5 separate regions of the Homo sapiens genome follow, and all the other regions are linked to region 1. The links are contacts of gene promoters, found by promoter capture Hi-C in blood cells and fetal thymus (Javierre and others, 2016). All regions are on one chromosome and are shown on one strand. Each heading gives the region's core, a stretch centred on a gene start or on the middle of the fragment in contact. The rest is flanking DNA. Distances are from core to core; before and after follow the strand shown.

Region 1 (4,022 bases), core at 785-3,284:
ACAAGAGCTGGGGCAAGATCAAAGGACAGTTTGGGCAAGTCAAAATCCTCACTAGGATAGGTCAGCAGGGAGCAGATGCAAATGTTCACCACCTCCTCTCTCACTCTGGAATGCTTATGTTTGAGATGTTCCAGGAGTAAACAAAGCACCTGCTGAGGTCCTACTTCCTTCATTAGCTTGAGGAAGATTTTCATGTATTCTTGTTTGATCACCAACTTGTTGTCCGCCAGCACTTTGACAGAAGCTGCTATAACTGGTCCCAAGAACTGCTGTACCTGCTCTCCAAGGCGAATAACCAGTAAATGCAGGACTTCAAGTGTGCCATGCACCACTTTGAAGTTAGAATCGTCTAACAAATTATATAGCAAACTAATGAAGCCAACAAGACTAGAATGAGGAGTAGAACTAGGGTTAAATTTTCCCAGCACCTGCTTTAGTTCTTCGACGGCCTGGGTCCGGTTCTTATAGTCTTCCTGATCCAATAATCGTGAATGCAGCTCCTGAGGAATAATCCCAAATTTAAGATTGCTGTTGGAAAGAGTCACTGCACAGGGAAGGGGATCTTCAGGAAATCCAGAGGCTTCAAGTTCCAAATAATAAGGAACCTGACTTCCAAACTGGGACTCCAGGCGGCGATTGTAGTGTCTCCTCAGGGCAGAGGGCAGACGAGAAATGTAAGATTGAAACCTGTCTTGGCCAAGTCGCTCCCCAATTTGTTGAAGTGCGGAGAAAGCTGTCTCAGATTCTTCTTCTGTCTCCTGATCACCAAGCTTTCGGGCTAGGGATATTATCACCTCGGTGAGATCCAGACCAAGCAACAAGTCCTCAGTAGTAAGCAAGATGGGAAGCAGTAGTGCTGTGGAAGCTCTAAGTCGGGCATCGGTACTTTCCAGTCCTTGTTGTATAAGCGTTCTCAGCACCTCTCCAGGACTACGTTTCAGACATATATGAAGGATCTGCAGCGCATCTTTCCGCAGGGCTGGATTCTCTTCCCGTAACGAGACAACTAGTTGAGGCAAAAGTGCTAAGCTAAAGGCCTCTTCAAGCTGGCCTGCCTCCCCCTGACCCCGGAGAACGTCCGAGAGAAGTTGCAAGCAGAGCCGCTTCTCATCACTACCTCCTTCCACAAGCACTCGGCCCAGTGCCCGATACAAAGCTTCCTTGCGTCGGGGGAAGCCAAGTCGACCGCCCCGCCGCGGCAAAGCAGCTTGCAAAGCCTGGAAGGCCTCAGAAGGATCCCGGGCAGTGCGGAGGAGTTGAAGGAGCCGAGTGTCCTCTTCATCTCCCCCTGACAAACCGCCTCCAGACTCAGACCAGCTGCTTGAGACTGCCTCCGAGGGCATCAAGAGGGCCGAGGCCAGAGGCGAAGTTGTAGTGGGGCAGGAACCGTGGTCCCCCGCAGCTCCACGGAAGTAGTAGTTTTTCTCTCCTCTCATAATGCCCCCAACTCGACTATCATCGGTCTCTGGGGCGGAAGGACGACTGCGGCTCTGGAGCCGATAGGTAGAGAGGACTGGAAAGGGCGGCAGCAGAAGCAGCGCGGAGGGGGCAGCCGCCATGCAGGGTTGTCAGGTGGTGGTGGTTGGAAGAAACCATTGCCGTCTCCAAAGGGCTCGATGGAGCCCAGACTTCCAGATCCTCTCCAAGCCCCAAGCTGCAGAAGAGGCAAAAGAACAGCTTCAGCCTGCCGCCAGGCCGCCCCCAACTCCGGGAGGCAGCCTCTGGCAAAATGGCCCCCGTCTGAGCCCTAGACCCCACAGCTGCCACCGGGCGTAACCAAGGGCACCACGTGACCAAACCGATTGCTTCCATGGTGATGTACCCAGCGCGGACCTCTTGACCCGGAAATCCACTTGCCGTGATGAATGCTGGGTTATGTAGTCCACGTCAGGTGTTGAGACTAGGCCAAAGTCTCCTGGAAGAGGAAGTCAGAACGTTGTAAACGCAGCTACAGCGGAGAAGGGAGGAGGGGTGAAGCCATTTGACGGATGTGACGCTTTCCTTGCTCTGGGCGGAAGTTGCCCGCCCCACCCGTAAGAGTTAGGGTTTGACCGGAGCTAGTGAGGATCCAGCCCAGGCTCCAGTTGTCCGCGGTTCCTCCTCCTGTCGCTGCCCGTGTGATTACTGAGACTCAGGTATTTTCCTTTTGCTGTCCTCCAGCGGTGCAGGCTTTGGCAGTGTTTTGCCCGAATGCCACTGGTGCTAGAGTAAGAGGCAAAGGACTGAGCGGAGCAGGTGGAAAGAGAGGCGACATCTTCTTGTGCAGGGCTCGTCACCCTTGTAAACGCGTTACTCTCTACCACCCTGAGTAACTGCGATCCTTTCCTCTTGCCATCTGCTTATCAGGACAGAAGATCTGGACCACGGCCAAGCTCACAAATCGGGTATTTTTTTTCAATTCCTGGTCTTTGGGGCCTTTATTCGCCTCCCCCTTCTCCTTTTGTCGACTTCTCTTAACCCTCCGGCCGCAGAGGGTTAATTTTTTTTTGTTTTTGTTTGTTTGTTTTTGGCAACGTTTCCTTACCCTCATCACTTTGCGTTTTCTTTACAACGTACATAATATGGAAATAGGTCTGTTTTTTTCCCCCTGTAGCTAACCGCCTCTCCCTTAGACGTTATCAAAATCTTTCCTTCTAATGCAGTTCCTCTGTGGGACTCTCCCCTAACCTCCGCCCCCTCCGTCTGCCGCCCTAGCCTCCCTGCAGGATCCTCAAGCGTCTCTGCAGCCTTTCAGTCTCCTAGAGACAGAGATTGCGAAGACAATTTCACTTGCGGTGGAAGTTCTTGGCATCATGGTTCTAAGAGAATTCTGCCTTGTGGATTTAGGAATGATAGTAGACATTTATTTATTTTAGGCGAACTGAGAATTTTGTGTGCATTTTCTCCTCATAAGTGATACTTAAACGGACACAGTGGAAGAGCTGGAGTGTCTAGTGTGAGCCTGAATGCTTTGGAGTGTGGAAGAGATATTTTTTTTTTTTGAAGGAATAATACTATTACTTTTGAATGACTCGTGCGAAAAGTCTAAGTTATCATTTGAAGACCCAAATTTATGCACTTCAAATGCAAGTATTCCTACCCTGCTCTGTACCAGGTGGGATTTCTCTTAAATACTTTTTAAAGTCTTGGAATAAATGAGTCACATATGCCAAACAGCTTTATAAATAATGCTCCCAGCTGATGCAAGTGCAAAAATAATTTCTGGATTTTTGCCTTAAAGTACGATTTGAATATCAGTTTTGTTTTGTTTTGTTTTTGGGGGGGTGGGGGTGGGGAATAGACTATAATGTAAATGAGGCTGTGTAAATATACATCCTATGTTTTGGTTTAAATTCTAGGCTGTTACTTTGGTTTTAATGAGCCATTTTCGTGTTTAAATGAATCTGCCTAAATTAGGTTTAGCTAGCATGTTTCATTTTAGGGACAGGTTAAAGACAGGGAGGTGAAAAACAAGAAATGATTGTAGCAGTTGTCAATGAGAAAGTGTCTGGTTCTCACAGTTCCAACCTAAGAAGCTCAAATGTGTAGACTTCTAGTCATGTATTGCCCAGACTTGAGGAACCCAGTTCAAACTAACCTAGACAATGATGTACACATTACAGTGCCAGTTTATGTTGGATCAGAATTTTCAAGTTGAAAATCCAGTGCACTCTTTCTTGTATCCAAGAACTTGGGAAGCCAAGTTAATAACTAGAGGTTGTGTGGTAATCATGGAATCACAGAAAAGGAACTTCGAAAGTCTTAAATGAGAGACGTGGATACTTAAGCAGTTATCATGCCCTTTTCCTGGGAACAAAGCAAGATGAGTCTTCCTTTTGATTCTTGTTTTTTTAGATCCCTGTGGATCACTATACATTACAGATTGCAATTTATTTTTTATCTGTTACATTTTGTCTCTTTGATTGAAGACTTAGAAGAGGCATTAGTCTCCATAGTGGATATTTAGGAAATGGGACTTCATCAGCATCACGTCTTACTGATTATCTTTTAGAGTTATTTTGTGGAACATAAATCTCATTCAT
Region 2 (3,618 bases), core at 328-2,827, about 10 Mb after region 1:
CTCACTGTAATCCATTAACTTGCCTCTCTTCCCCAGCAGACTGGGTACTTTATGAAGGCAGGTCTCAGTCTATCTGGCTTGCTATCCCAATGTCTGGCACTTGATATTACTTACTGTTTTCTTTCTTTTCTTCTCTTCTCTTCTGTTTTCTCCTCTCTTTCTCTGTCTCCTTTCTTTCCTTTCTTTTGCTCTGCCACCTAAGATGGAGTGCAGTGGCACCATCCTGGCTCACTGCAACCTCGACCTCCCGTGCTCGAGCAATCCTCCCGCCTCAACCTCCTGAGTAGCTGGGACTACAGGTGCACGCCACCACCCCTGGCTAACTTTTTGTTATGTATTTACTTATTTTTTTTGGTAGAGACGGGGTTTCACCATGTTGCTCAGGCTGGTCTCGACCTTCTGGACTCAAGTGATCCGCCAGCCTCAGCCTCCCAAAGTGCTTGGATTACAGGCATGAGCTACGGCGCTTGGCCGGCACTTGGTACTTTTAATGAATAGTTATTAACCATGAAACTTTTAAAGTTTAAGCAGTAGTATGTTTAACCTGGAAGACTTTTAACATTTAAACAGCAGGCCATTTAATTGTGGCAGTTCACATGCTACACCAGTGCATGGAGCTCCTTGTGGCCAGTGCAATGTTGCTGGCCCATCTGGCAGTGGGAAAATCTGGGCATCCAGGAGTGCATCTCTAGGGAAGTATCACCAGCCCTCACACCAATCTCAAGCTGCCTGTCTTCTGCAGAACCCACTAGATCAGCGCGCTTCTGGCCTTGACCCACTTGGTGGTTACCTACAGCCACTAAGAGGTGGGCAGATAGATGTTTTTGGTAAGTGGTCTCTGGGTTAGGGAGTGCATGGGTTATGTCCGTCTAGGGGTGTGTGTGTGTGTGTGTGTGTGTGTGTGTGTGTGTGTGTGTGTGTGCATGGGTGGGGGAAGGGAGGAAGGAGGCCGAATGTGCATCCCTTCTACAAGGACGCCTTTCCAGACCTCCTTATTAGGTGGCGTTCGCCTCCTCACCCTCTCTCAGCCCCTTATCTCCTCTTACACGGATCACGACTTGATTAATGCTTGTCTCCCAGCTAGGCCGCCAGCTGCACAAGGTAAGGAACCGAAGGCATTCCGGTTCTCCCTGGCAATCCTCCTTCTCAGAAGGATGCCTGAGGCATAACAAGTGTTCCAGAAATATTTCTTCCGCAAGCGCTCTGGGCCAGTCTGGACGGACCGAGCGCCCGCTGGGCTGCGGGGGCCCCGGGACCCCGGCCGGCACTGACGCCCCGCCCACCACCGGCCGGCCCGGGCGGGGTGGGGCGCGGCTGGGCGCTCTCGCGGGGACCGTTCTCCGGCTAGCGTGGGCGATGCCCGGGCGGGGAAACGGGAGGGGACGACGCGACGCGAGGTAGCGGCCTGGCCAATGAGCGCGGGTCGGGCGGGGCTGGGGGCCGGCGGCCGGGGCGCGCGCGGGTCTGGGCGTGCCGCGGGTGACGGCGGGGCCGGGCGGGCCAATGGGCGCTGGGTGGCGGGCGGGCGGGCCTGGCGGCCGGGGGCTTTAGGACGTGAGCGGGCGGCCGGCCGGACAGACTGACGTGTGAGCTGCATCGCGGGAGGCGCATGGCGGGGATGGCGCTGGCGCGGGCCTGGAAGCAGATGTCCTGGTTCTACTACCAGTACCTGCTGGTCACGGCGCTCTACATGCTGGAGCCCTGGGAGCGGACGGTGTTCAGTATCCTGTCCCGGCCGCGCGCGCGGGGGCCGGGCTGGGGGCGCGGGCCGCGGGGCCGCATTTCCCCAGGCCCCGGGCCTGGGGTGGAGGCTGGAGCGGCGGCCCCGCCGGTCCTGTGCGCGGAAGCCGGGGGTGCAGGGGGAGGTCTGGGGGCCGAGGGCGGCGCTCGCGGGGTTAAGTGGGGGGTGGGGGAGACGAGAACTCTTGAGATCCGGGGTCACCTGTGAGTCGCTGGACCCAAGGGGGAAGCGTCTTGATTCCTGGAGGAAATCTCCGAAGGTGATGTGTAACCCTGTGTGTCGCCTGCACTTCGGCCGCAACTGCCTTTGGTTCAGTCCCCTGTTCCTGTAGGAGGCGGGGATCATGTAACAGTGGAGCACATCGCTCCCGGCTTGGACGCCTTTGACCTTTAAGTGTTCCTGATTTAGTTGGCTTTGGGTCTACCAAGAATTCTAGTCAGTTAACTAGCTTTTAAGCCAGGTTCTGAATTTGTAGGCATGACACTCCAGTAGTTTTTGAAAGCAGTTTAAGTTATTGTATCTTTTTGGTCTTCAAGTTGGGGAGTTTTAAAAGTGTATTTATTGCTTCTGTGCACCGTCCGTAGAAGTCGGCCCGAAAAGTGGTGCAATTTGTGGTTAGTTGTCGGTAGGGTTTGAAACTGTGTTTTGGTGGATAGTTAATAAATTCTTGTTAATGACTATTGAGTGGTTACTATAAGCAAAGCATTTGTGCAAAGCACGTTGTCTGTATCTTAACTCATCTAACTTTGAGAACTTCAGTTAATAACTCAGGGTTGTGAAGATAGGCTCCCTGAAAGTCTGATGTTTCTTGTCTCTGCTTGTCCATATTGACATCCTTTGATGATATTCTTGCAGATTAAATACTGATAATGAATGAGATGTAACTTTTAAAAAACTCAGGCCAATACAAAACAGGTATTTCACAAAACATGTTTAGTTTATCCACGTTCTCTCCTTTTCAGTGTGGTTTAGTTGGAGTAGCTTACTTCAGAATAACTTTGCGAATGCATTGTTGCATTCCAGTGAGTGACTGAGGTAATTTCATTCTAAGCCTTATCAAGTGTGTTTATTTGTTTTGAGATAGCTTAAGGTTGTACTCAAAGCTGAGTCTTTTGTTTAAGCACTTTTGAGGAATTTGAGATGCTTTCAAAGCAGTTTATTTATTTATTACTGTTGGCATTTCTTTCCAAACCTGGAATTTAAGAACCAGAATGCATATTTTGGATTTAGACTCTGAATATAGTTTGCTTTGATTTCCTGCACCATTTATTTGTAGCTGCAGTTTAGTCTCACTCTTTAGGGCTCGCAAGGTCATGCCTTGTAAAATATATACTTGAATGCATATTTAATAGAAGTCTCTCAGTAGAAGCAAGTATATCTTGACTGACATAACACATCCTAAAATTAATTTAAACAATGCTGGGTTAAAATGAAACTCTTTAAATCAGAGGTTGAATGTAGAGTGCACTATTAGAATCTAGTATAGATTTGACACCTAAAATCTAATATAGATTTTACACACTAAAATGCTACAGTTATCAATGATGTTAAGATTTTTCTGTTATGTTGCAATAGTGATAGTGTCCTATAAATAACTAGGTGATGCCTTTTTTGGGGGATGGAGAAATAAATTATGAAATGAAATATAGTGCCTTAGTAGATATTTGCCTTTAATGTTTTTGAGTTACCATGGTTTAGCGACAAGTAGTTTCAATTTTTTTTTCAAATAGGTGAGAACTGCAACCAACTGACATCCAATATTATAGAACCTTATGATTTTAAACTTAAGATAAAAAAATCTTATTTCAAATTTCACGTTATTGAATTAACTCAGGTTAGAAATGCAATTGTTTGACATAAGCCAGTCTTGAATTACT
Region 3 (3,917 bases), core at 442-2,941, about 12 Mb before region 1:
GGAGCTTTCAACACAGCAAAGTGGAAAATGAAATTGAATCACCATATTTTACAATGAGCTGTAACGCAAAAAAAAAGAATCGGAGCCGTTAATAAGGACAACTACATAACAGCGCAGTTAAGCTTTTTAAGCTTATGTTTTATTATTAAAGCAATTATCCTGGAGTGGGCGGGGAGGAGAGCAACCCGCATAAAATGTATCTCAAAGACACACTGAAAACCAGTGACAATCTCAAACGTGTTACGCGCAATTTGATAGAGACACAGTGACTAAACTATAGAGTAACATATACCTACCTTGACGGTCATGGGGCCAGCACACCTTAGTCTTTTCCAGGTACTTATACAATTTCCAGCCTTTTCCAGGTAATTTCTCAGCTGTACTGTGAGTTCCTGGAGGAGAGGGGCTGTGTGGTAGAGTGCTTCTAAAATGGATTCCCAGATAACCCTGCCTCCTCACTCACTTCCTGTATAAGCTGCTCGCCTTATGTGTGAGCTTAACCTAAGGATTGGCTTCTATCAATACAATAAGGCAAAAGTGATGGATGTCACTTTCAAGATTAGGTTATGAAAGACTAACTTTCATCTTGCTGGCACTCCCTCTTGTCCTCTCACTTGTTCTCTCTGATGAAGCCACCTACCATGGTGTAGGCTGCCCTGTGGAAAGGTCCACATGGGAAGAAACTGAGAGCCGCCTCTAGCCAACAGCTGGCAAGAAACTGAGACCTTCAGTCCAACAACCTTAGAGGAACTGAATCTAGGCAACACCATGTGAGGGAGCTAGGAAGTGGATCCTTCCCCCACATAAGCCTTGAGATAACTATAACTCCTGTCAAGACTTGGATTGCAGCCTGTGGATGACCCTGAAGCAGAGGACCTAACTAAGCCTCATCCAGACTGCTGTCCTATAGAAACCGCGAGATAATAAATGTTGTTTTAAGTTGATAAATGCAGGCTAATTTGTTAGTTATCAGCAATAGATAGTTAAGATAGGCTGTCTTCTATTTCTTTGCTGAAAGAACATGCCAATGAGTAACCTTGACTGGGTCAAGCATATACTTCTTTCCCTTTTTATGCATTTCACTTTTGCTCATGAGTTTTATTTAAAATTTTTTTATTTTGGAGGGGAATAATTCTTTGTCCATGTTTGGGAGGTAGAGATCAGTGCTGGAAGTACAAATTTAGGAGTTGCTCGTGTAAGGATGATATAAATGACTAACTTGATAAGGGGATAGTGTAGAGAGAACAAGGTTGAGGTCTAATGTCAGCCCATATTCTCATTTAGGGAATGGCTGGAGAAGGGGAGAGAACAGTGTAAGAGAATGAGGCATCACCAGAAGCTAAAGAAGAAAAGTCGATGAAGTACATGTGGTCAGGATGTTACAGAGAGGTAAAGGACAATGAAGAGAGGCACGTCTAGATTTTGTGAAGCTCAAGTGTATAAAACTTGGAGAATTATATGTAAGTAAACTGATATAAAACTGCAGATACAGAATTAGGCACAAGATATTGGAAGACACCTGGGCTAGAGAGGAACTGTGAGGCCTAAGCTTCATTAGCTTCATGGTTGTTTTCCTTTGAAGATTAAGAACTTCCAGTTCTCTGTTTATGTCTGACTCTACCTCTCAGTAAGCATCTGACTATTCCTTCCTCCCCGGAAGTATTTTCTTTTCTGGCCTTCATTGATAGCACACTCTTTGGTTTTCCTTTTATCAATGGCCTCCCTGCCCTGGCTCTGCTTCTGTCGGTCCCCCAAATGCTGAAGTATTCCTGGGCTGTTCTAGACTTTTCTCTCTTTCTGTCTTCTTTCCCGAGATGATCATATTGAAGCTTTAAAGGGCAACTATGGGGCAATATTTCTCAAAATTAGACCTCCTCTGCTTCTCTTTTTTAGCGACCGATTATTTTAAAAAACCCAACTGCCCCCGACCTCTCCATTTCTATGTCTAAATAGCCTGTCAAACCTGATGGACTTTGTCTAATTTCCACCATATTTAAAATGATGCCTGGCACAAAATTGGTGCTAAACAAATATTTATGTAATAAATGAATACATGAACAATCAGAGATCACTGGCATATCCGTTAGGGATTGCATTTAGCTACTAGTGACAGATCCTGCTACAGTGTCTTAAACATTAAAACAATCATTCTCTTATATAAAAGAAGTCAGAAGTCTATAGGAAGTCAGTCTACCACTGGCTTGGCAACTCCCTGATTCCACTAGGGACACAGCTGAAGTCCTCATATCTTTCTGCACCATCCCACTCAGCTCACATTCTCAAGGTCATCTACTGATCCAAGGTGGCTGCTAATGCTCCAGACATTACATCTGTTCTTGAGGAAGAAAAAGAAAGGATGGGAAGAGAAAGGCCTGCTCCAGCTTTTTTAAAAAAGCACTATTTTTTTAAATGCTATTCCACAATTTTGCTATATCTAATTGGCCAAAATTGAATAACAGGTCACTCCTAGGGGCAAAGGATGCTGCGAAATAGACTTTTCAGCTGGACAGTTTGCCTAGAATTCTATTACAAAGGAAGAAGGGGAGAATGGATACTGAGGGGCAACTAGCAGGCTCTGCATGGTTGGATTTGGTGACCTGGAGGTATTTGAACCTTGAAAGTTCAAGAGGTCAGCTTCAGTAGAGTAGTATCTACAGAAACAAGGTACTAGTGGGCTAAGAAGTGAGCAAATGGAAGACATGAAAATAAAATACATTTGCAAAAAGTTTGGCAGTGAAGGGAAAGAGAGAAATAGCATGAAAATTCACAGGGATCGAAGTGTCAAATGAAGATTTTTGAATGTCTTGTTTTGTTTGTAACTCAAGGGAGTATTTGGAGAGACATAGTGATGAAGTAAAGATGTACAGGTTATTGGAGAGGATGGGACTGAGGAGGACAGAAGAGAAGGGTTGAAGATAGAAAATGTTAGAGATAAAGAGAGAGACCTCATGATGTCTCTCTTTACACATGATGTGTAAACATGTGATCGTTGGACTTGATCCTGAGACAGACCAATAAGACATATAACGAGTATTGATTTATTGTTTGTGCTCTACATCATTCTATGATGGCTTAGAGTTAGCCACTATAATACAAACCATAAAGCAGAAAAATATGTAAATAATTTGGGATTCATCCAGAGAAACAGAACTAGTAGGAGATATGTATGATACAATTTATTGCAAGGAATTGTATAATGTAATTTTGAGGGCTGGCTAAGTAACTCTGAAGCCCGTAGCACATGCCATCAGGAAGGGAAGACTGGAACTCCTGGGCATGGCAGAAAGCTGTTGTCCACAGCTGGAAGTTTTTCTTCATCAGGGGACCCATATCCCTGCTCTTAAGGCCTTTCCACTGATTGAATCAGGCCTACCAGATTAACTATGATAATCTCACGGTTTTGAAGACAAATGAGGCTGGGCATGGTGGCTCATGGCTGTAAACTCAGCACTTTGGGAGGCTAAGGTGGGAGAATCACTTGAGGCCAGGAGTTCGAGACCAGCCTGGCCAACATGGCAAAACCCCATCAATACTAAAAATACAAAAAAAAAAAAAAAAAAAAAAAAAGCCAGGTGTGGTGGTGTTTACCTGTAATTCCCGCTACCCAAAAGGCTGAGGCACGAGAATCGCTTGAAACTGGGAGGCAGAGGCTGCAGTAAGCCAAGATCATGCCACTGCACTCCAGCCTGGGTGACAGAGCAAGACTCTGCTTGGAGAAAAAAAAAAAGTCAACTAATTATGAACTTTAGTCATATCTACAAAATACCATCACAGCAACACCAAGATTCGTGTTTGATTGAAAAACTGAGGAATGTAGCCAAGCCAAGTTGACACATTCGAAGAACATCACAGAGGCCAGGGAACACTCAATTAGATATAGAACATCAGATTGACGGAAAGTAAATACATAGATCCAT
Region 4 (4,074 bases), core at 680-3,179, about 15 Mb before region 1:
TAATCATCCTTACATGACTGAAAGTTTAATCAGATACATATAAGTTACACATAACAAGAACAAAACTATAACACTAGGAAATGTTACTTTGTGCTTCAAATTATTTATTGGTAAAGAAAGCATTAAGTCAGTAAAAGCAGCATCTAAGAATAGAGAATCTCCTTATTTTCAATTTTCTCATTTGTAAAATAAGGAGTTACAGAAATACAATCTTTGGAAAAGGCCCAATATGTAGCAAGATAAAAGTATAAAAGTAAAGTGTTTCAAAGAGAGTTGGGGACCAAGCTATGCTAAATTCCCAAGTGCTCTGGAACCCTAAGTCTCAGCAGAGTAGTGTTTCAACAAATCCCTCCACTTTTCGGAGCGCAACACATGTAAAGTGGTTGTGTTTAAAACCCCAACGTGCAAGTTTGAAAAGACTGTTTTACAAAACAATTGTTAAAATGTCTAATTTCTCTCAATAATGTCAAAATCATTTCCTTTGAGAAAATGATACCTATCTCTCATACTCTTCCAACCACTTCTTAAAACACATTCAGCTCATTATTCCAATGAGCAGGAAACTTGCGGGGAGGTGGGGCTAGCACACAGATCCCATGGCTTGGACAACTGAAGCATGACTTTTGTGGATTTGTACCATGTGGTGTTTCAGGAGAGAAGAAAAATACCTCAGGTGATGAAATTTTCAAAACGTATCTAAAACTGCAGTTGGTAGAAGGCTCTCCACAGCCAGCTGTCTTTCAAGAAAAGGCTCCAAGTTTATTTAAAATCTACAAGCAGAACAGAACCATACCTCAACCAAGCTCTAACATCAAGAAGTTTTACCCGATTTACGTAGTTAAAAGGATAAGAAATCGGAATTTACTTCAATGGATTTGTTCGATGCCTTAATAATGAATGAACTAGAGGCATCACTCACTGACTTGAGTTCTGAAGGAGTCTCTCAGCCCTGCCCCCTGTAAAACCTTAAGCAATTTCTACAGAATTAGGTTTTTCGAGGCTAAGCCCGGTTCAAAGGAAGTCTCCCCGCCTCCCTCCCAGGGGCTGAAGCCCAGGACAGCCGGGGCGGCGCGCCCGAGCGGGTGGGGGCGCGGGGACGCCCCCTCCCCGCTCGGGAAAAGTTCTGCAGGCCGCTCTCCGGCCAGGCCGGCCTGCGGCCGTCGCCTGCTTCGCCGCCACAAACACCCATCTCGGCCGCGGACGGCCAGAGGGTCGCGCCCCCTCCCCGCGCCACCGCAACTAACACCCCGCCCCCGCCTCCCCGCCACCGCCCTCGCCGAGCGTTAACCCCTCGCCGTCCGCCGCCCGGCTCGGGGGAGGAGGCCGGCCAGGGGGTGGAGTTGTCGCGTCTCCTCCCGGGAGCGCCCGGGCAGACGCCCGGCTTGTTTACAGGCCCCAGGCCTGCCCGCCGCCGCCGCCGCGCAGGCCCGCACCGCCCGCCAGCCCGCCGTCGGCCCGAGCGCCGCACTTACCCGGAGCAGCCGCAGGCGGGCAGGTCCCTGGTCGGCCGAGGCGGCGGCGGCGGCAGCCGGGGAGGGGGTCACCGCGGCGGCGACGGCGGCAGCCGGGGGAGGGGTCACCGCTGCAGCGGCGGGCCAGGTCAGGCTGGGGAAGGGGCGGAGGAGGGGAGGAGCCGGGCTGCGTCCGGGCCCCCGGCTGTCGGCGCCCTCGCGGCTCAGATCATCCGGGCGTTGGAGAGGGAGGCAGAGAGCGGGTCCCGGAGAAGGAGGAGGAAGAGCCGAGGACTCATCGCTTTCGCGCCTCAGCTGTCTAGAGTCCCCCCACCCCCCCCTCCCCAACCACCCGTTCCGGAGCAACAGCCGCCTGAGGACCCGAAGCTGCGGGCCGGACGAGCGCCGAGACCACTGCTCTCTAGCTCCCGCGCGCGCTCCCGTCCCTAGCGCCGCCACCGCCGCCGCCGCCGCCTCTAGCGCGGCCCCGCGCAGGCGCGCTCACGACCGCGTCGCCCCTCCCCCACCCCTCCGCTCGCCCCGCCCCGCTGGCTCCGCCGCCGCTACAGCTGCGGCGCGGCGCGCAGCTACAGAGACCCGGATGTCGTTGGGCAGGAACTGCGGTGAGGGCTGGCGGGCGGGGGAGGGGCCGCCACAGATGACGTCACTGCCTTACCCAGCTTCTTTCTCTGCCGCTGCTGCTGCCGCCGCCTTTGCCTTACGGCCTGGAGCACCAGGCCGAAGCCGAAGGGAGCGTCCGGATCCCGGATAGCAGCCAGGACCCGGGCCTTCACGTTCCGGCGCCAGGGACTGGACAGAATGTGCGGCTATTAGGTGCCCAGTAGATCGACAGCCCCTCCGTGCCGGCCCTTGGCCAAGTAGGGACTCGGAAGCTACCCCTACGGCGTCCGCGCCCGGAGCCCTGGCTCTTCTACCTGCCTGCAGATACAAACCCCACTCCCTGCGAAGATGGTGTACACGCAGCCCCGAGCACAGACCCGAAGCTGTCCACCCTTCTTGGGCGCCGTCGCGGTCTGGCCGCTGCCCTTCGAACCCATGGTGGGTCCCAGGCAGCTGCCAGACCCCCCTACCCCAGAGTCCCACTCCTCCAGAGCCTTCCTCTCCCAGTGACCCCAGGAAGCCCAAGCAGGTGCCACGGCCACACACCTCGCGACCCAAAGGGCAGAGACACAAGCACGCTACCACCGCCCACCAATGTGCGAGTGCAACTGATTCACGCACGGGGCACATGCTCTGAGTTTCTGGCAGGTTTTCCCTCTATAGTTCAGGGGATTCCACATTGTATTTATTTGCACATGTTAGATAATCACGTGGTTCTGTCCCAGGGGACCTCCAACGACCTCCAATGAGGTAGGTTAAGGGAACAGGATTTTTCAAAATCAGGAGAATAATCAGAAACATAACAGCTGCTTCTATTAAGAGGTAGAGATGAGCTAAAGTTAATAGAAACTGCACGTGCCAGCGGCCAAAATCCAGTTTAGCTAGCTGGAAAACCCGACCCACGCTGCTTGCAGACGCCGGGGATAGAATGACAAACCCTAGGCAGCCAATGAATCGCAGCCTAGGAGCAGTACATCACCAGCACGGGTTCCCATTGGCTGGGGTGCCCTTCCCTCTCTTGTCAGCGGCTTAACCAGTTCACGAATTTGACCTACACCACATTCGCAGGAAAAGAAGTTAGAAGAAAAGTCCGTATTTTTAAAAGATGTTCTGATGCACACACAAACCAAAGACTTCATTGTAGAAGGCAGGTTCTTTTACTGGCCAAATTGAGTTCTGGCCAGTAAAAAAGGTAAATTTATGTTGAAGGCCTCTCTATTTTACTTGAGGAGCTCACTATAGCAATTTGCACCCTACTACTTTCTATCTCCTAAACCATTTTGTTGCCCCAACTCTTAGATCAAAAGCAACCTATTTATTCTTTCTGGCATTCAGCAAATATTTAGCTGCTGCTTTTAAAGTTGTAAAAAGCCATCTCTAATTTTCTCAACATGACTTTGGGGAAGGTTCTGTTTCCTTCACTTTTTTTTTTTTTTTTTTTTTTTTTTTTGAGACAGAGTCTCGCTCTTTCATCCAGGCTAGTACAGTGGCACAATCTCGGCTCACTGCAAGCTCCGCCTCCCGGGTTCATGCCATTCTCCTGCCTCAGCCTCCCGAGTAGCTGGGACTACAGGCGCCTGCCACCACGCCTGGCTAATTTTTTTGTATTTTTAGTTCAGACAGGGTTTCACCGTGTTGGCCAGGATGGTCTCGGTTTCCTGACCTCGTGATCCACCCTCCTCGGCCTCCCAAAGTGCTGGGATTACAGTCGTGAGCCACTGTTCCCGGCCAGAATTCCTTAGAAGATGATCGTGGATCATTTCCACATATACAAAATAAAAATAAAATTCACTATGCATTTGGTCTCAGTATCATCTGAGGATACATTTCCTAATTCTCCACATATCTCCCCGACCCCCCAAAAAAAGAAATTAGATCAGAGATCTTTGAAACGCTACCTTCTTGGAATCCTTAATACTCCAGGCAAGTAACAGCATGAGTAGCATGCTGGTGGACTCATTAACATTCTGAACTACAAAAGCTCATATGGCAACCATTTAGA
Region 5 (4,031 bases), core at 689-3,188, about 13 Mb before region 1:
ATTTACTACTAGTTTCAACGAACTTCATAAAAATTAGTTTCAACAAAGCTTCATAAAGAATTTATGTTTTCCAGAGATACTTTAATAATTGATAAGCTAATAAAAATTTGCACATCCAGTTTATCATTTTTGTTTTGGTTATCAGAAAACTCTTAACTAAATAAAATGTATAGCATTTATGTTAGTCTACAGTGTACATGATTCATGTTTTCCTTTTACATGCTGTTTAATTTCTGTTTCAAACAGCTTTATTTTATACAAACCTTTTTTTTTTTTTTTTTTTTTTTTTTTTCTGAGACGGAATCTCACTCTGTCACCCAGGCCGGAGTGCAGTGGTGCAATCTCGGCTCACTGCAAGCTCCACCTCCCGGGTTCACGCCATTCTTCTGCCTCAGCCTCCCAAGTAGCTAGGACTCCAGGCGCCCACCACCACGCCCAGCTAATTTTTTGTATTTTTAGTAAAGACGGGGTTTCACTGTGTTAGCCAGGATGGTCTCGATCTCCTGACCTCGTAATCTGCCCGCCTCAGCCTCCCAAAGTGCTGGGATTACAGGCGTGAGCCACCACGCCCAGCCTATACAAATACAAATCTTTTATATGAAATGCTCAACCTTTTTAGAACTAGCCAGGATATAGTAAATAAATAATGTTATACACATTCTTATATCTAGATTAACTGAACCTAAGTCCTACATTTAGGATATGTGAAAATCTCAGGAATTCAGAAAGGCTTTTTTATTTACTTGTCTTCCCTTCCCTGTTGCCGCCACGTTAGATTATAATTAGAAGTCTCTGATTAGTCTCTGTGATTGCCCTTTTTGAACTAGAGAATGTGTAGTAGAATGTATAATTCCTGTAACTTTCTTTTAAAACTCTGAATATCCTTCATGAGGGTTGTCAATTTCTAAGCAAATGGTGTTTGTTAACTGGTGTTTGTTAACTATTAATAGAACCTTTGTATTTACATTGTAAAAGGATCATTAGTAGTAAGGGTCAGAGTTAAATTAGCAACTAATTTTAAGTGTATTTGGAGTGGCTCAGATATATGAATCTACTTTTTCAACAATAGATTTTATTAAATCTAAATATAGGCCAAGTATTTCTGATGAAAATTTAGCATTCAAATTGAGATGTGGTGTAAGTGTAAAATGCTCACCAAAATCAAAGACTTACTACCAGAAAAGGAACGTAAAATGTCTTATTAATACTTTTTATGTGATTGTATGTTGAAATGTTAAAATCTTTGATATTTTTGATGTATTCGACTGAGTATAATAGTAAAAAATTTAAAATAAGCAATTTGGTGACTAGTGGAATAGTTAAGTAATTTTAGGAAAACAGCAAAAATCTCTTGATTTCCTTTATTTTTCTTTTTATTATCATTATTATTATTATTATTTGAGATGGAGTCTCACTTTGTCACCCAGGCTGGAGTGCAGTGGTGTGATCTTGGCTCACTGTAACCTCAACGTCCTGAGTTCAAGCGATTCTCCTGCCTCAGCTTCCCAAGTAGCTGGGACCACAGGCACATGACACCACGTCTGGCCAATTTTTGTATTTTTTGTAGAGATAGGGTTTCACTATGTTGGCCAGGCTGGTTTTGAACTCCTGACCTCAAGTGATCCACATGTCTTGGCCTCCCAAAGTGCTGGGATTACAGGCATGAGCCACCACACCCAGCTTTTTTTAATTATTTTTTTAAGCCCAAACTTCACCATCTTGGTTTCCTTTATAACCCTCCTAGGAATGGGGCTTTAAACAAGCAGCTTAGCAAGGTAGCAGAGCAAACTATCTTAAAACTGGAGATTTTGATAGACAGGGCCTTTGAGTCCCAAACTAGCATTAGAAAATCTAATTCTCTGGCCGGGCACGGCGGCTAACGCCTGTAATCCCAGCACTTTGGGAAGCCGAGGCAGGCGGATCATGAGGTTAAGAGATCGAGACCATCCTTGCCAACATGGTGAAACCCCATCTCTACTAAAAATACAAAAATTAGCTGGGCATGGTGGTGTGTGCCTGTAGTCCTAGCTACTCAGGAGGCTGAGGCAGGAGAATTGCTTGAACCCGGAGGCAGAGGTTGCAGTGAGCCAAGATGGCGCCACTGCGCTCCAGCCTGGTGACAGAGTGAGACTCCGTCTCAAAAAAAAAAAGAAAATCTAATTCTCAACTGTAAGGTTCTATGGTCATTAATGATCTGAGAAATTGGGGGTGGTGGCATACAATTACATACACAGATTTATAAAATACGAGCAGTGATTCCCTAACTCTTCAGTTAGACTAAAAACATTTGTTTATAGATTGACAAACTTGTTTTGAATTTTTAAATTAGGTGACTAATAAAGGTACCAGAAGAATATGGCTGCACAAATACCAGAATCTGATCAGATAAAACAGGTAAGGTATTCTAATTAAGGGGAAAAGATTTTGCAAAAAAATGTAAGGTGCTACTAATGCCACCATGTCAGGCTGGGTGCAGTGGCTCACATCTGTAATCCCAGCACGTTGGGAGGCCCAGGTGGGTGGATCACATGAAGTCAGGAGTTCAAGACCAGCCTGGCCAACATGGTGAAACTCCGTCTCCTAAAAATACAAAAATTAGCTGGGCGTGCTGGCGCACACCTCTAGTCCCAGCTACGTGGGAGGCTGAGGCACAGGAATTGCTTGACCCAGGAAGCAGAGGCTGCAGTGAGCCGAGATCGTGGCATTGCACTCCAGCCTGGGTGACAGAGCAAGACTCCATCTCAAAAAAAAAAACCATGTCAGTGGTTTCACAAAACAATTGTTTCTATTTCATTTCCAAAATGGATATTAAATGTTATAAAGTGTACGTATTTTTCTTGTTCTTTTTTTTTTTGGACACAGTCTCTCTTTGTCGGCCAGGCTGGAGTGCAGTGGCACGATCTTGGTTCACTGCAACCTCCATCTCCCGGGCCCAAGCAATTCTCCTGCCTCAGCCTCCTGAGTAGCTGGGATTACAGGCATGCGCCACCACGCCTGGCTAATTTTTGTATTTTTATTAGAGACAGGGTTTCACCATGTTGGCCAGGCTGGTCTCGAACTCCTGACCTCAGGTAATCCGCCCACCTCGGCCTCCCAAAGTGCTGGGATTACAGGCATGAGCTACCGCACCCGGCCAAGCATATGTATTTTTAATCTGACTGATAATCAAGGAAAAATTAAATATTCAACTAGAAAATAAAACTATTCTGTAGATCATACTGTACCCATTTAAGTTAGCATAATAACTATGATTTCAAGTGTTATAGTATATTTTGTCTAAATATAAAATACCAGTAATTTAAGTTTCAAAGCATCTTTGTTTTAAAAACCAAATACTAAAGAACATTCTGGTTTGTTTGTAGTTTAAGGAATTTCTGGGGACCTACAATAAACTTACAGAGACCTGCTTTTTGGACTGTGTTAAAGACTTCACAACAAGAGAAGTAAAACCTGAAGAGGTATGAAAAGTGTTACTCACTAAAATTCTACAAGCCTTCATAAACACTCTAAGTAGGATCCCCTTAAGCATTTCACTTGTTCCTACTTATTACAGGAATTTAGACTACCTTTTATGTTCCATTGCTTGGAAGAACTGAAGCAGCCACTGAACCACGGCATTGAGTTTAACAGTGCCAAATTTAATGACAGTTACATTGTACCAAGTCAGACCATTTTAGAGAAGATGCCTGCAGCTGCTGAGTTACTGTTTCACAACAAAGATTCTTACTAATTAGCTTTCAGCCAAGATGGCCTACCTAGAGAAACTTGGCACAGCCTTTCTGTATGGCCCTGGGAATTCTGGTTGGCTTTGGAAAAAACAAAGCTTGACTTTGGTGGCTCATATTGAAAACCTCATCCTATTAGAAGTCTTAACTATTTTTTTAAGACAGGGTCTCGCTCTGTTACCCAGGCTGGAGTGCAATGGCATAATCATAGCTCACTGTAACTTTGAACTCCCAGCACATTGGGAGGTCAAGGCAGGTGGATCACTTGAGCCCAGGAGTTCGAAACCAGCCTCGGCAACATGGTGA

What was found. Contacts are between HindIII fragments. The CHiCAGO score rates a contact against its expected background, and 5 or more counts as called.
Region 2: a contact is called between the fragment with the promoter of SPTSSA here and the fragment with the promoter of KLHL28 in region 1, in 2 of 17 cell types (total B cells and naive B cells). The highest score is 7.7, in total B cells.
Region 3: a contact is called between a fragment that was not itself captured here and the fragment with the promoter of KLHL28 in region 1, in 1 of 17 cell types (total CD4 T cells). The highest score is 6.0, in total CD4 T cells.
Region 4: a contact is called between the fragment with the promoter of PPM1A here and the fragment with the promoter of KLHL28 in region 1, in 1 of 17 cell types (activated CD4 T cells). The highest score is 6.2, in activated CD4 T cells.
Region 5: a fragment that was not itself captured here is called in contact with the fragment with the promoter of KLHL28 in region 1 in 1 of 17 cell types (naive B cells); the score reaches 6.1 in naive B cells.

Annotation. Positions count from the first base shown.
Region 1 is chr14:44,959,959-44,963,980 of GRCh38, reverse strand. It overlaps KLHL28 (kelch like family member 28), which reads left to right and starts at 2,034. Exons shown (of 5, transcript NM_017658.5): 1 at 2,034-2,135. It overlaps TOGARAM1 (TOG array regulator of axonemal microtubules 1), which reads right to left and starts at 1,791. Exons shown (of 20, transcript NM_001308120.2): 1 at 1-1,791. The coding sequence starts at 1,559. RefSeq lists enhancers at 1,334-1,848, 1,498-2,307, 1,849-2,363, 2,878-2,967. The HindIII fragment of the contact is 5,188 bases long and covers 1,159-4,022 here.
Region 2 is chr14:34,460,199-34,463,816 of GRCh38, reverse strand. It overlaps SPTSSA (serine palmitoyltransferase small subunit A), which reads left to right and starts at 1,577. Exons shown (of 2, transcript NM_138288.4): 1 at 1,577-1,721. The coding sequence starts at 1,610. RefSeq lists silencers at 1,055-1,564, 1,685-1,854 and enhancers at 764-1,714, 2,255-2,364. The HindIII fragment of the contact is 5,560 bases long and covers 1-3,618 here.
Region 3 is chr14:56,575,204-56,579,120 of GRCh38, reverse strand. No RefSeq gene overlaps it. Among named protein-coding and RNA genes, the nearest start is that of TMEM260, 2.6 kb to the left of the region's middle. The HindIII fragment of the contact is 280 bases long and covers 1,552-1,831 here.
Region 4 is chr14:60,247,076-60,251,149 of GRCh38, reverse strand. It overlaps PPM1A (protein phosphatase, Mg2+/Mn2+ dependent 1A), which reads right to left and starts at 1,929. Exons shown (of 6, transcript NM_021003.5): 1 at 1,473-1,929. RefSeq lists silencers at 946-1,685, 1,886-1,985 and enhancers at 2,086-2,435, 2,496-2,545, 1,855-2,583, 3,126-3,375. The HindIII fragment of the contact is 6,782 bases long and covers 1-4,074 here.
Region 5 is chr14:58,410,270-58,414,300 of GRCh38, reverse strand. TIMM9 (translocase of inner mitochondrial membrane 9) reads left to right here. Exons shown (of 6, transcript NM_012460.4): 4 at 2,330-2,394; 5 at 3,363-3,458. The coding sequence starts at 2,356. It also overlaps a transcript of TOMM20L not described here. Among named protein-coding and RNA genes, the nearest start is that of TIMM9, 15 kb to the left of the region's middle. The HindIII fragment of the contact is 3,775 bases long and covers 51-3,825 here.